4 separate regions of the Homo sapiens genome follow, and regions 1, 2 and 3 are each linked to region 4. Evidence: promoter capture Hi-C in human tissues and cell types (Jung and others, 2019). All regions are on one chromosome and are shown on one strand. Each heading gives the region's core, a stretch centred on a gene start or on the middle of the fragment in contact. The rest is flanking DNA. Distances are from core to core; before and after follow the strand shown. Region 1 overlaps ABI3BP (ABI family member 3 binding protein). Region 2 overlaps ABI3BP (ABI family member 3 binding protein). Region 3 overlaps ADGRG7 (adhesion G protein-coupled receptor G7). Region 4 holds the start of PCNP (PEST proteolytic signal containing nuclear protein).

Region 1 (2,700 bases), core at 37-2,536, 820 kb after region 4:
CCACGACTACTGATACCCTGATTTAGCCTTATTTTGTCTTCTGAGTGCCCCCTTGGCTCTCCCCTCTTGCTCCTTATCTGTGTTCCCAGATCAGCATAATAACTTTACATGTGGCAGGTATCCAGAAATGCTTACCATAATCCTTCAGTGTCCTTGCAGTCAAGCTTACCCAAACTGATTAGATTCTCCTTTCCCATGTTGAGCAGTCCTTCCTCTTTTTTTCTTATTCTACTTGTCCATTTATCTCCCTCTGAACCTTCACCTGAATGGGGATCAAATATTTCACGACTACACTAGGGGTAAAACTCGGCTGAACAACTCAAACCAACAGCTATAGGGTAGACTTTCTATATAAAAAACAGTTTGCTTGAGATTTGTAAGACTTTTGTTAGAATGAAAACCAACTTTTTAAATCAGTAAGGAGTATGTAACTAAAAAGTTTATTAAATAATGAAAACTTTACTTCAGTTCTAAATTGTAGGCAAAAAATAGAAGGAAAAGATTATAGAAAGGATCAAAACGGGGTAGGGAATGGCAAGCATCTGCTCCATCCAGATCTGAAGGTTATGCTTGAGGATATTACCTCTTCCACTAAAGAAGAAATCAGTCTCAGGCTAGAAGCCTACAGGTTGGAGGTTCTTGTCTCTTAACAGTTTTGCTCATGAGCCACAGGTCACACTTTTTGAAATCCTAGTTTTTCACTTTTCAATGAACTGATCTATGTTTTTTTGTTCTCATGCTGATTTTTACAGCTGCTCTCAAACTGTTGGTGTCAAACAATACCCTCTATTATGCCACTCTTCTGAGATAATGCTTTTTAGTGCTTTCTAGACTCAATGAAATATTAATATAACATTTTTTTCTTAGCCTGTGGATCTATGTTGATGGCAGGCAGAAAGGTTTACCTGTTAAATTTTCGATCTTTCCAATAACCCGTGGGCTATACCCTTCTTATAAACTTCACAAGCAAAAAGCAAGTGTGTGGCCATAGAAGAGTTCTGCCTTGAGAGTTCTATGGCAGTGTTTGTCAAATTCCCCAATAACAGAAACTCTTTAAAAAAAATTATCTAGAGATACAAATATGATACTAGTGAATACTTATTACTATGTGTCAAGCACCTTGCTTTTACATGCATTCTCATTTAATCCTCACAGATGCTTTTATAGCCCCCGTGAAGTTATAATTACTATAACGAATAGTATCCTCACAAATAGCATTATCCTCATTTTTATGTAAGAGTAAACTGAAGCTCAGAGAGGTTAAGTTACCTTAAAGTCACACATTAGTGAGCTGTGAATCTTTCTGGTTCTAGAACCCATGTTTTTAACGCCCCCTGGATCATGCTGCCTCCTGATGGGGATGCGCGGGGAAGATTGTTTTTTTTTTGTTTGTTTGTTTTTGGAGGGGATTTACACCTACCCAGGTAGAATCAGGCATGGCATTCTGTGAGGCTTTATTTACCTGGCTTGTCCTAGATGGGGCCAAAAGGCTTGACAGCATTTGTCATCTGGACTGCATTCCATTTAGATATTCATTTTGATGTGGTAGGTCTTATAGTTCTTTAATTTTCATCAGAAATATATGTACAGTTTTAAAATTAAATTATCACAAAAGCATCTCCTCCCTGTTGCTAAATTTGGTTCCCCAGATGCAAATTTTTTTTTTACCATTTTGTCCATTACTTCTGTCAATTAAATCCCTATGTCTAGACTGACCTTTTCACAAGATGCTCAAATACTCCAGTCATTTCTTTGTTCTATTTGTTGTATGTTTTTAATGGCAACATCTCTTTTGGAATTCCTATACATCCTTTGCCTCTGTTTTGAATCCCAATTCCTGCATCACAAGACTTCTTCCTTGTTTACTCCATTACTTTGTAGCACTAAAGAAATAAATCTTGAGGAAAAGTTATAAAAGGCAATATTTTTGAGTCCTCACATGTTTTAAAAGTTGTTTTACTTTGATACTATTCTTTAGCTGGACATATTAGGATATAATGAAGACTTTTGAAGGAATTGTTCTATTTTCTAACTTCCAGTGTTACTGTTAAAAAGTCAAATGTCATCCTGATTCTGGATCCCTTGAACGGGACCTATTTTCTTCTCAGTTTTGAGGACTTGTCTTTATCACCCCAGTACTCTGAAATTTTGTAACTCATGTTTTAGTCCTTTTTCTTTTATTCATTTTGCTGGGCAGAGTAGGTCTTTTCAATCTGGAAACTCTTGTCTTTCAGTACTGGGAAATTTATTACAAAGTTTCTAGGATAATTTTCTATCTCCTTTCCTTTCTTTCTTCTACAATTCCTACTAGTTGGGTACCATATTCTCTGGAATAATTCTCCAACTTTCTTTTCTCTCATTTTTTCATCTCTTTGACTTTTTGTTCTAGTATTTGTGAAATGTCCTCAACTTTATCTTCCAAAACTTCTATTTGAAGTTTCTTACTTCAAATAACTGTTTCCTGAAACTTTAAATTTTATTTTCTATGTACAATCAATATTGAGACATTTCTCTTAGACCTATGATGTCATTCATCTGTGACAAAATGTGCTTCTTCAGAAAAAATTTTACCAACACAAATAATTTTTGTTATATAGGGTTTAATCAGGCCAAAACAAAAATGTGCCTTTCAGTTCCCATGTTAATTAAATTTAGTGCAAAATAATTTCTTTGAAACTTGTCAAATATCACAAAATATTG
Region 2 (2,736 bases), core at 92-2,591, 760 kb after region 4:
GTAAATTGTCAAATTGTAAAATGTACGTAAGTCTTGAAAGTTTTAATGAGAGGCTTCCATAATAGGATAGACTGACTCTTTATTCATCTCTATTAAGATTTAACAGTTTCTTAACTTTTACTGAATCAAGGAATACTTTGAGATTTTGATAAGCACAGTTTATTAATTACATGGTGTTCTTTATGCTTTCATACATATGAACTCTTTATTGTATCCATAGTTACTTAGACAGTAGTTAACAAGATATTTATCCCAACTTCTATAGAAGTGCAAGTAGACTGATAAACGCCTTTTTCAATACAGTTAGAAAAGCATATATTATGCAAATGTGTAAAAAGCTTGTCCAACAATCTTCCACTAATGTGTAGCAAGAATCAGATAATCAAACATCTAGGAGAATGTTTTGTTGACCACATAGTGATATTAAGCTGAGTGCAATGCTGTCTTGCAAATCTGTCTTATGAGACTAATGGGTACCTGACCATGGTTTGGCCAAATCTGCAAAAAACAAGCCTTACTTTTAAGTTCTGAAGCTTAAAAATTGAACTGTGAAATTAATATTCAAGTTAAATCTTTTTGCTTTATTTTATTATTTTTGTCTAGTTGTTACTACAGTCCTTGAACCTGACACTTTTAGAACCAAGTTTCCAGAAACAACGTTAGGTAATGATATTCTGTGTTCCTGAATAACTTTTTCCTCCTTATTTTCAAATCCATTCCATCATTATCATAATCACATTGTCATCAGCTTTGTAGGACTATCTTGTCATCTTCTGCTATCCTTCAACTTTATATTGTCCTTCAACTTTATATTTGAGTATTAGTGATCCTTAGAAGTTACCTATTATTTTCAAAAGCTATGCATGGACCTAGTTCAGAGTCTACCATGTAATCTTATTTGAATTTGTGTCATGTACTTTTGTCTAAACAGCATTCATGTCACTCATGTCTGAAGCTAAATTTCAAACACAGTTGCTGGTGGCTATATCATATCTAAACTGACTAAACTCTAACAGTTCTTATGGTATCATGGATTCTTTGGCATACTCAAAAGATTTAGTGTGAGCCTGAGACTCTATCATCCAGAGTTTGGCTCTAGTGTTTCTGAAGTTAAAGATGTATGAGTCTCTTCACTTTTCAACTTGATTTTATATGTAAGTTTTCTCTCTCAAGAATCTTCAGTGATTAAGAAAATTAACAAAATAGAAAATATTTTAATCTTAAAAGACATATGACTTAAATCTCAAGGAAATATGACATACCTTTAAAAACCTAAAGTTTTGTCTCCAAAGCCACCTGCACTAGAGTAATCCAAAGTTTCTTCCTTCAGCTCCTAAAACACAACGGACACGTCGTCCCCGTCCCAGACCCAAAACTACATCAAGTCCTGAAGTACCTCAGAACAAATCGGGTAAATGTATGAATCCTTGGCTTAAGTAGCCAAGGAACCTGAACCCTGGCAGGCTGTCCCAATAAAGTCCTAAAGAAATGCCTATGACGGGAAGTAACAGTCATCATGTTTTCTAAGAATCAAATTATTTAACATGGGTAGCAACTGCTTCTCGTACAGAGCTATCCAGGAGAACATGGCTTGGAGCCACTTGTGTGCCTGATCTCCTAAATGACTTGGTTTGGATGACGTTCTTGGTCCCTCTTTAAAGATGTGTTTACAGCGAGATTAGCATACTCATGGGTATTTATTGCTATATCTGCATTGAAACATGTGATCCATTTGTTATGATTACATAAACAGGCATTTATTTTCAACTTCCAAGAAAAGCAACAAGTTACTTTCATATATATTTCTCTCTGTATTTTCGTATCTGTTGCCTAAACAAATTTCCAAAGCCAAATATCCATACTAGTTAGAAAACCAAATACCTAGGAAAACCTCATGTGGATAATATCAAGATATGTAACAGAGTTCAAAGGTTGTAACTACCTTCTTTGATGAATTGTTCTAGCTAGTGTGGCCAAATCTTCCAAAAGCAACTATATGCTGCCTATCAATTCAAAAGTTTTAAAAAATTGTGTATCATTTGAAACTCATGTTTTAAAATAAAAATTGAGGATTTTTTTTAAAAAGTCTTTAAGCTTTCTTGTATTCATGTTGTTGCTTTTGGTTAGTTTCTGTTACAGGCTTTGAACCTGTTGTTCATAGTACTGATGCTCCAGGAACAACATTTGGTAATGATTTTTGTGACTTGCATTAAATGCTTTTTATTGCCATTTAAAAACGCACTTGAGCACTGTCATGACCAGAGTTGCTTCTGCTTCCTAAGACGCTGTTATTCCATTCTACACTTCATTTTAAAATAGTCAGCAGTTTTAATTCAAGTGTTACCTGTTGTTTTTCGCAGATGTCCCTGGACCCAGTGAAGGACAGCTGTCCAGCATGAAACTCTCTTTAAATTTGCACCATATGATTCAGTGTTAAATCTGAGGTCCAAATTGGTATTTAGTATTTATAGATCTAAATACCCTTCCATTTGGTATTTAGATCTATAAAGCAACAATTAAGTACCATGAACTCCCTTTGAGTAACTTAGTTTCTATAAAACCTGTGTCTTAGTCTCATTATTTTCTTCCTATTTTAAGGAATAAGGTGTCCCTATTACATTAAAATAGATTTCCCTGAAAGTTCCAGGCTCCTCAATCATTGATAAGCTTGACCACTGTTCTTCACTACTGTTTAGTAATGGCTCTTAATCTTCGCTAAGTAGGAATCCCTCTGAA
Region 3 (2,762 bases), core at 6-2,505, 880 kb after region 4:
AAGCGTTCATGTAAGGTTGGCAATGACCTGAGGAAATTATACATCTTTACACGCAGCCTCGGCCGCGTCACTGAAGGCAATGACTTCCTTCTCCCAATAGACGATAGCAACATCAACACTTTGGAAGCTTCACTCTGGAAGACTTTTGTTCTAACAGTGTACAGGATAAAAATTTGCAATCCCTGCAGATAGAACAAAAGTTTAATGTTGGGTAAGTGCTGAGATACAGTATCAAGGAAGACATTTTATTTCACTCTGCCACCCAACCTTCTCATCTGCACGGCACTTCCCCAACTTGAATTTGCCAGTGTGCAGCTGCCATGCACTTTTTAATCTAAGAGGGTTGAGGCAAAGTTTTCCCATATACAAAGACCTACATGTAACAGTACAATAGCAGATATAGAAGACCCGAGTTCAGGTCCTGGGTTGCCACTAGCTGGCTGTGTAAATTTGCTTATTTCATAATCTTGATAATCTTCAACTTCCTGAAGGAAGAAGATTAACTATGAAATACCTAATTCTTCTCCCAGTTCTAACATTCTGTGCTTCCATATTTCTTGGAGTTATAGTAACATAGCTAGAAATTTGTGCACTTAAGGACAAAAAAATGTAAAGCCCTTCTAGTCACTGCTTTTCTGTACTTCACAGATGAAGACCAGATGTACATGAGAAATTGAGCCACAAAACACTGAATAATATTTTCTATATGTTTCCAGTAAAAACTGCCATTTATAGAAGTCATATCAGTATCAGACCCTTGCTTTTCACTTAATCCTCATCATTTGATCATTCTCATGTAATCCTCACATCAACCCAATACAACAAGCTTTATCATCCGCATGTTTCAGATAAGGAAACTAAAGTTCAGATAAACTAAGTAGTTTGTCCACGATCACCCAACCAGTACTCAGTGGAGTCTGGAATTGAATTCTTACATCTTTAGCTCCAAAACCCCTCCTCTATCCAATATACGGTGCTGCCTATACTGTTGCCTGTAACTGTAACAGAAAGTGACTGCAAAGTGTATCATAGCTTTTAAGATGCTGCTGTTAATTCTTTATTAATATCCTTTGTGGAAATGACAGATGAAATAGCATCTGTAGTTAAGTTGATAATATTGTGCCAATGTCAGTTTCTTGATTTTGACAGTATACTATGGCTGTATAAGATATTATCATTTGGGAAAGCTGGACAAAGAATATGTGGGAGCTATACTATTTTTCCAAAATTTTTTATTAAATCATTTCAAAATGAAAAGGTATTTTTAAAAATAAATATCCTTGGATGTCTCCCACATTAGCATCTATAGGGCCCCAACCTTTTTAAGAGTTTATTTTTGGAATCATATCCTGTGAGTACTGTTATTGGAGACTTCTGGTACTCTGGAAAGACCCTTATAGTTTGACTAAAAAATCAATAAGTGTTGGCAAGAGACAGACTTGTTCTCTGGCCAAAAGTAGAAAAAGTAGCTTGATTATTACTCAACAGGTGGTATCTAACACATCAGAAGAAAGGCCCTATGACAGTGTGTGCTTGGAGACACAGGTTTCAGAAGGACAGGAGTGGTCATTGGCCATCCTGATTGTTCAAGGGAGAGAAATTTATTTGGGGCACATGAGAAATCCAGTCTCTAGAAAACCATCTTTTTTGTGGCATACACTATTTCATCTGATTTTTCCAGAATTTAAATTCTAAAGTAAACTAAGATTTGATCAAATTTCTGTTGGTACAATAATTAGGAAAAGACCCTAGACCATGGATAATTCATAAAAACACCATCCTGTTGGACCTGTTTGGGTGGACTCCCAATATTTCTGTGCTTCCTAAAAGCCCAAAAATGTTATTTGAAAAGAAAAAATGTGTGGGTCAGACTGACTACCAGTAACACAAAGTTCAAATTGTGCCTTCTAAGTAATATCTGTAGCATTTAGTAAATGTTTATTAGAATTATAGTATTCTAAATCTAGAAGTTTCACGTGTAAACAAATCTAGATATTCCTACACTTTAGTGTACATAGAAATCACCTGAGGTCCTTGTTTAAAATGAAGAGTCTCAGCTCCTATGCCTGTAGATTCTGGTTGAGTAGGTAAGGGGTGAGGCCCAGGAATCAGCATTTTAACATACTATGTAAGTTCTGATGTAAGCAATATTCAGATCCATTTTACAAAACACTGTGTTGATTTTAACACACATATTGCCCCACTACTCCATTTTATATTTTGCATACCTCACCCACAGAGGTTATGTGATTTTCCTATAATCATAGGAATCAATGGTAAAGCTGAATAACAGCCTAAGTTTCCTGACTTTTAGCTCCATGTCCTTGCCACATTGCGATACTCAATTTTACCATGTTGTAATTTTTATCATTTTACCATTAACAGTTTTTACCATTTTACCATTAACACTTTGTTACGAACCTCTCTTTTATAATTTCCCCCTCCTATGCATGGAGAAGAGAAAATCCTTGACTGTGCCTTCATTCAGATTCCTCCCTAAATTCCTGCTCACTCTGGGCAACAAGCCCATGGATCAATTGGCAATGTCAGATGAGGCTTACCCTACTTATTGATCTTCTAGGAGTTTCCATTTGATACTGACAATCATAAAGAACTGAGTTATATCCCTGTAAATTTAGTGGCAGGCACCCATCCATTATCTAAGGGAATTAATCCTAAAAGGCACTGGAGAGGGCTACCTGGGATAAAGGATGAGGTTCTTAGAAGCATTAAATATGGTGGTAGCAATTCAAAAAGCCAAG
Region 4 (2,700 bases), core at 134-2,633:
AATTCCCTAGTGAGAAAGTAGTAGATGGTTTAAATTTAAATTGTTCTTTCATAAGGTATTTTACTAGTTATAAAAAAAAAAAAAGACAGGGGGTGGGGAGGGAAGAGAGAGATGGAGTTCCAGCTTAACTAACAGAATTGTACGTGTTTTTTAAAAAGGAAATCCTGGGTCCAAAGTAATTAACATTACACTTAATCTTTTCAATAATTTTTGTTCCCAAGGCAATTAACATGAAACATTATGTTAGTAGGTCTACTAGTGGCCTTCATATGCTATTAATCGTTTCTATTTTCTCATATTAAATAATTTCGGGAATGATAACTAAGGTGGTCAGAATAGAGAATAATGTTTAAAATGTTCTAAAAACATTTTAAACAGCTCGCACGTGTTAAGTCACTTGTCTTGTTATGTGCAAAGAGGGAGCTGGAGAGATTACGTTTCTTTTCCTTCACGCACAAGACCCGAATTTAGGGAGTGGAATGGACAGAATAAGGATAGCTGTAACCTGAGTTTAACGTCGTAACAAAATACAGGAAGAGTCACGCTAGACTATTTAGTCGCCTAAGTATCTGGCAAGCGGTCAGCTGGCAACAGCCTAAGGGAGATACTTCAAAGAAAAGCAACCAAACCTTAGCCCTAGACCCCGCAGCTTAAACCAGAGGGCAGGCAAAGGCATTCCTCTTCCCCTCCATCACCTCGGCCCATCCTGTCACAGGGTCAATATTAAACTTGGAAGTAAAGGAAAGAGAGCAGGCCGGAGTTGTCCACCTCCTCAGTGAAAAGGGAGCAGCAAGCGTAATTAACTCCTGCGTGTAACTGAGAGGCCGGCACCGTCAGAAACTCAGCCTGCGGCCAGTTCCCGCGGCAACTACTCGGTGGCTCGCACTGTGTGTATGTTATGTCTCATGAGCGTCTCCGGTGTGTGTGTTTTGTGTGATGTGCGTCTCCGGTGTGGCGGTAGCGGCTCCTGCACCGCCGCTCCTGGTCCCACCCCGAGTTCGGTCTCCCTTTCTGGCGCCCATCTCCCTTCTCCTCGGAATCAGGGCCTCCGCTGGGGCCAGGAGGTGACGAACAGTGGCCGGCTCTCCCCAGGCAAGGAGGCGATGTAGGCCCGGAGCCCAGAGGGCCGCATCGGGCGTGCCCGAGGCAGGTCTGGGCCCAACACCTGGCCGGGTGAGGTCCAGATCCGCCCATTCTCGCCCCACCCCACTCCCCCCACCCTGGGAGCTCAAAGAAAGGCCCGGAGCATCCCACGCTGCCCACGACGCTGGGGTTGTGTTCACCTCCGGCGGCTCCAGCTCGCTGCGACTTTTCAGGCTTCTCGTCTCCCGCCTTCCCGTCCGCCATTTTCCCCGCCGCGGCCTCCCCTGCAGCCACGCCAAGGACGTCACGACCCCGCCCAACAACCATCGAGTTTTTGGGGCCAGCCGGCGTGGTGGCAGCCTAGAGCGGTCCCGAGGAATGAAAAGAGGCCGCCTTCGGAAGCGGAAGTGGATGTGATGTCATCGAGTAGCCGCCTCGGAAGGAAGAGCTGGGAAGGTTGGGCGGTCTAAGAGTGCTGGCTAGGCACTTTATTAGAGGGCAGTCAGGTCTTCATGGTCTAGCGACAGGTCCGGAGAAGTGAGGGGAAATGGAGCATCTCCCTGGAAACGCTGGGATCTTAGAAGGTTTCTGCATACCCAGATGTGGTTGCAGCTGAGGCTGAGAGTGTCTTCCGTTCCGGCCTTGCTGGATAACGCATGCCTGCCAACTCTATGTAAACAAAAAGCCTGCATTCTTTTTCCCTAAAGGGGAAATCAGTGTTTATCTAGCGCCCCCTAGCTTCAGACGCCTTTCATACACTCGTTTAATCACGGCGATTGTCCAAATATAGAATTCTCCTCTCAATTACCTGTAAGAGTTGAGGTCAGAGAGAGTAATTTGTCTAAGTCACGTAGCCAACTGTAAAGTTACTTTTTGTATAGTCTGCTTCTACCAAGTTGAGAAACTACTATGTCAAGTTAAGACTGCAGTAATTTCTGCCTTAATAAGAAACCTTTAGTGGATTCCTACAGTCTGCATTCTGAAGTCCGTGAGTTACATTAGGCCCTAGCCTACCTTTTCGGCTTCATCTTCCCCCTTTCTCAGTATTTATCCAGCCCTCCTAGCCAAATGGGGTCTATTACTTGCTTAGGGAACTGGAGTTTCTGGGTTTGTCTTACCATATATAGTTAGAGAAAGTCTTAGGAGTCAGAACTTGGATTTGAATCTGTTTTGCCCTTTCCTGCTTGAGTAACCTTGAGACTTGCTTACTGCCTACAGAGCTACCTTTTCTTCTCTATAAAAGAGCAATAATAATAGTACCTCCTCAAAGAGTGGTAATAGGGATCAAATGAGATCATCTTTGTATACCATTATTTGGTCACTTCATACTTCCCTCAGTTTGTGTGTGTGTGTGTGTGTGTGTGTGTTTTAAGTGTTGTCTCTCTGAATGGCTCAAAAGTTCCTTGACAACAGAGACCAGTTTTTAAAAACTGTGTACTGTGCGTTTCATATATGAATATAAAAAGTGTTCAATATTTGCGGATGGATTACTTCTCGGGCTTCAAGTCCAGGGAGTGGAGAAAGAATGAAGAAATTATCAAAGTGTGTTTCCCATGACAGAAGCAGGGCAGTGTGGTGGTGATTTTGTGATCTAGGTTGAAGTCCCTGATCCATCAT

Evidence for each region. The method cuts DNA at HindIII sites, captures the fragments that hold promoters and counts their contacts. A contact is called where the count stands out against the background at its distance.
Region 1: a contact is called between a fragment that was not itself captured here and the fragment with the promoter of PCNP in region 4, in 1 of the 25 tissues and cell types used here (mesenchymal stem cells).
Region 2: a fragment that was not itself captured here is called in contact with the fragment with the promoter of PCNP in region 4 in 1 of the 25 tissues and cell types used here (mesenchymal stem cells).
Region 3: a contact is called between a fragment that was not itself captured here and the fragment with the promoter of PCNP in region 4, in 1 of the 25 tissues and cell types used here (small bowel).

The regions. Positions count from the first base shown.
Region 1 is chr3:100,756,797-100,759,496 of GRCh38, reverse strand. The region is part of intron 63 of ABI3BP (ABI family member 3 binding protein); the gene reads left to right. Among named protein-coding and RNA genes, the nearest start is that of TFG, 49 kb to the right of the region's middle. The HindIII fragment of the contact is 4,852 bases long and covers 1-2,700 here.
Region 2 is chr3:100,815,363-100,818,098 of GRCh38, reverse strand. It overlaps ABI3BP (ABI family member 3 binding protein), which reads left to right. Exons shown (of 68, transcript NM_001375547.2): 42 at 604-663; 43 at 1,331-1,411; 44 at 2,128-2,187. Among named protein-coding and RNA genes, the nearest start is that of TFG, 110 kb to the right of the region's middle. The HindIII fragment of the contact is 3,105 bases long and covers 1-2,736 here.
Region 3 is chr3:100,692,164-100,694,925 of GRCh38, reverse strand. It overlaps ADGRG7 (adhesion G protein-coupled receptor G7), which reads right to left. Exons shown (of 16, transcript NM_032787.3): 16 at 1-182. Among named protein-coding and RNA genes, the nearest start is that of TFG, 16 kb to the left of the region's middle. The HindIII fragment of the contact is 3,606 bases long and covers 1-2,762 here.
Region 4 is chr3:101,572,863-101,575,562 of GRCh38, reverse strand. It overlaps PCNP (PEST proteolytic signal containing nuclear protein), which reads right to left and starts at 1,383. Exons shown (of 5, transcript NM_020357.3): 1 at 1,284-1,383. The coding sequence starts at 1,347. RefSeq lists enhancers at 864-1,023, 1,044-1,203, 1,284-1,413, 1,514-1,783, 1,227-2,172. The HindIII fragment of the contact is 9,941 bases long and covers 1-2,700 here.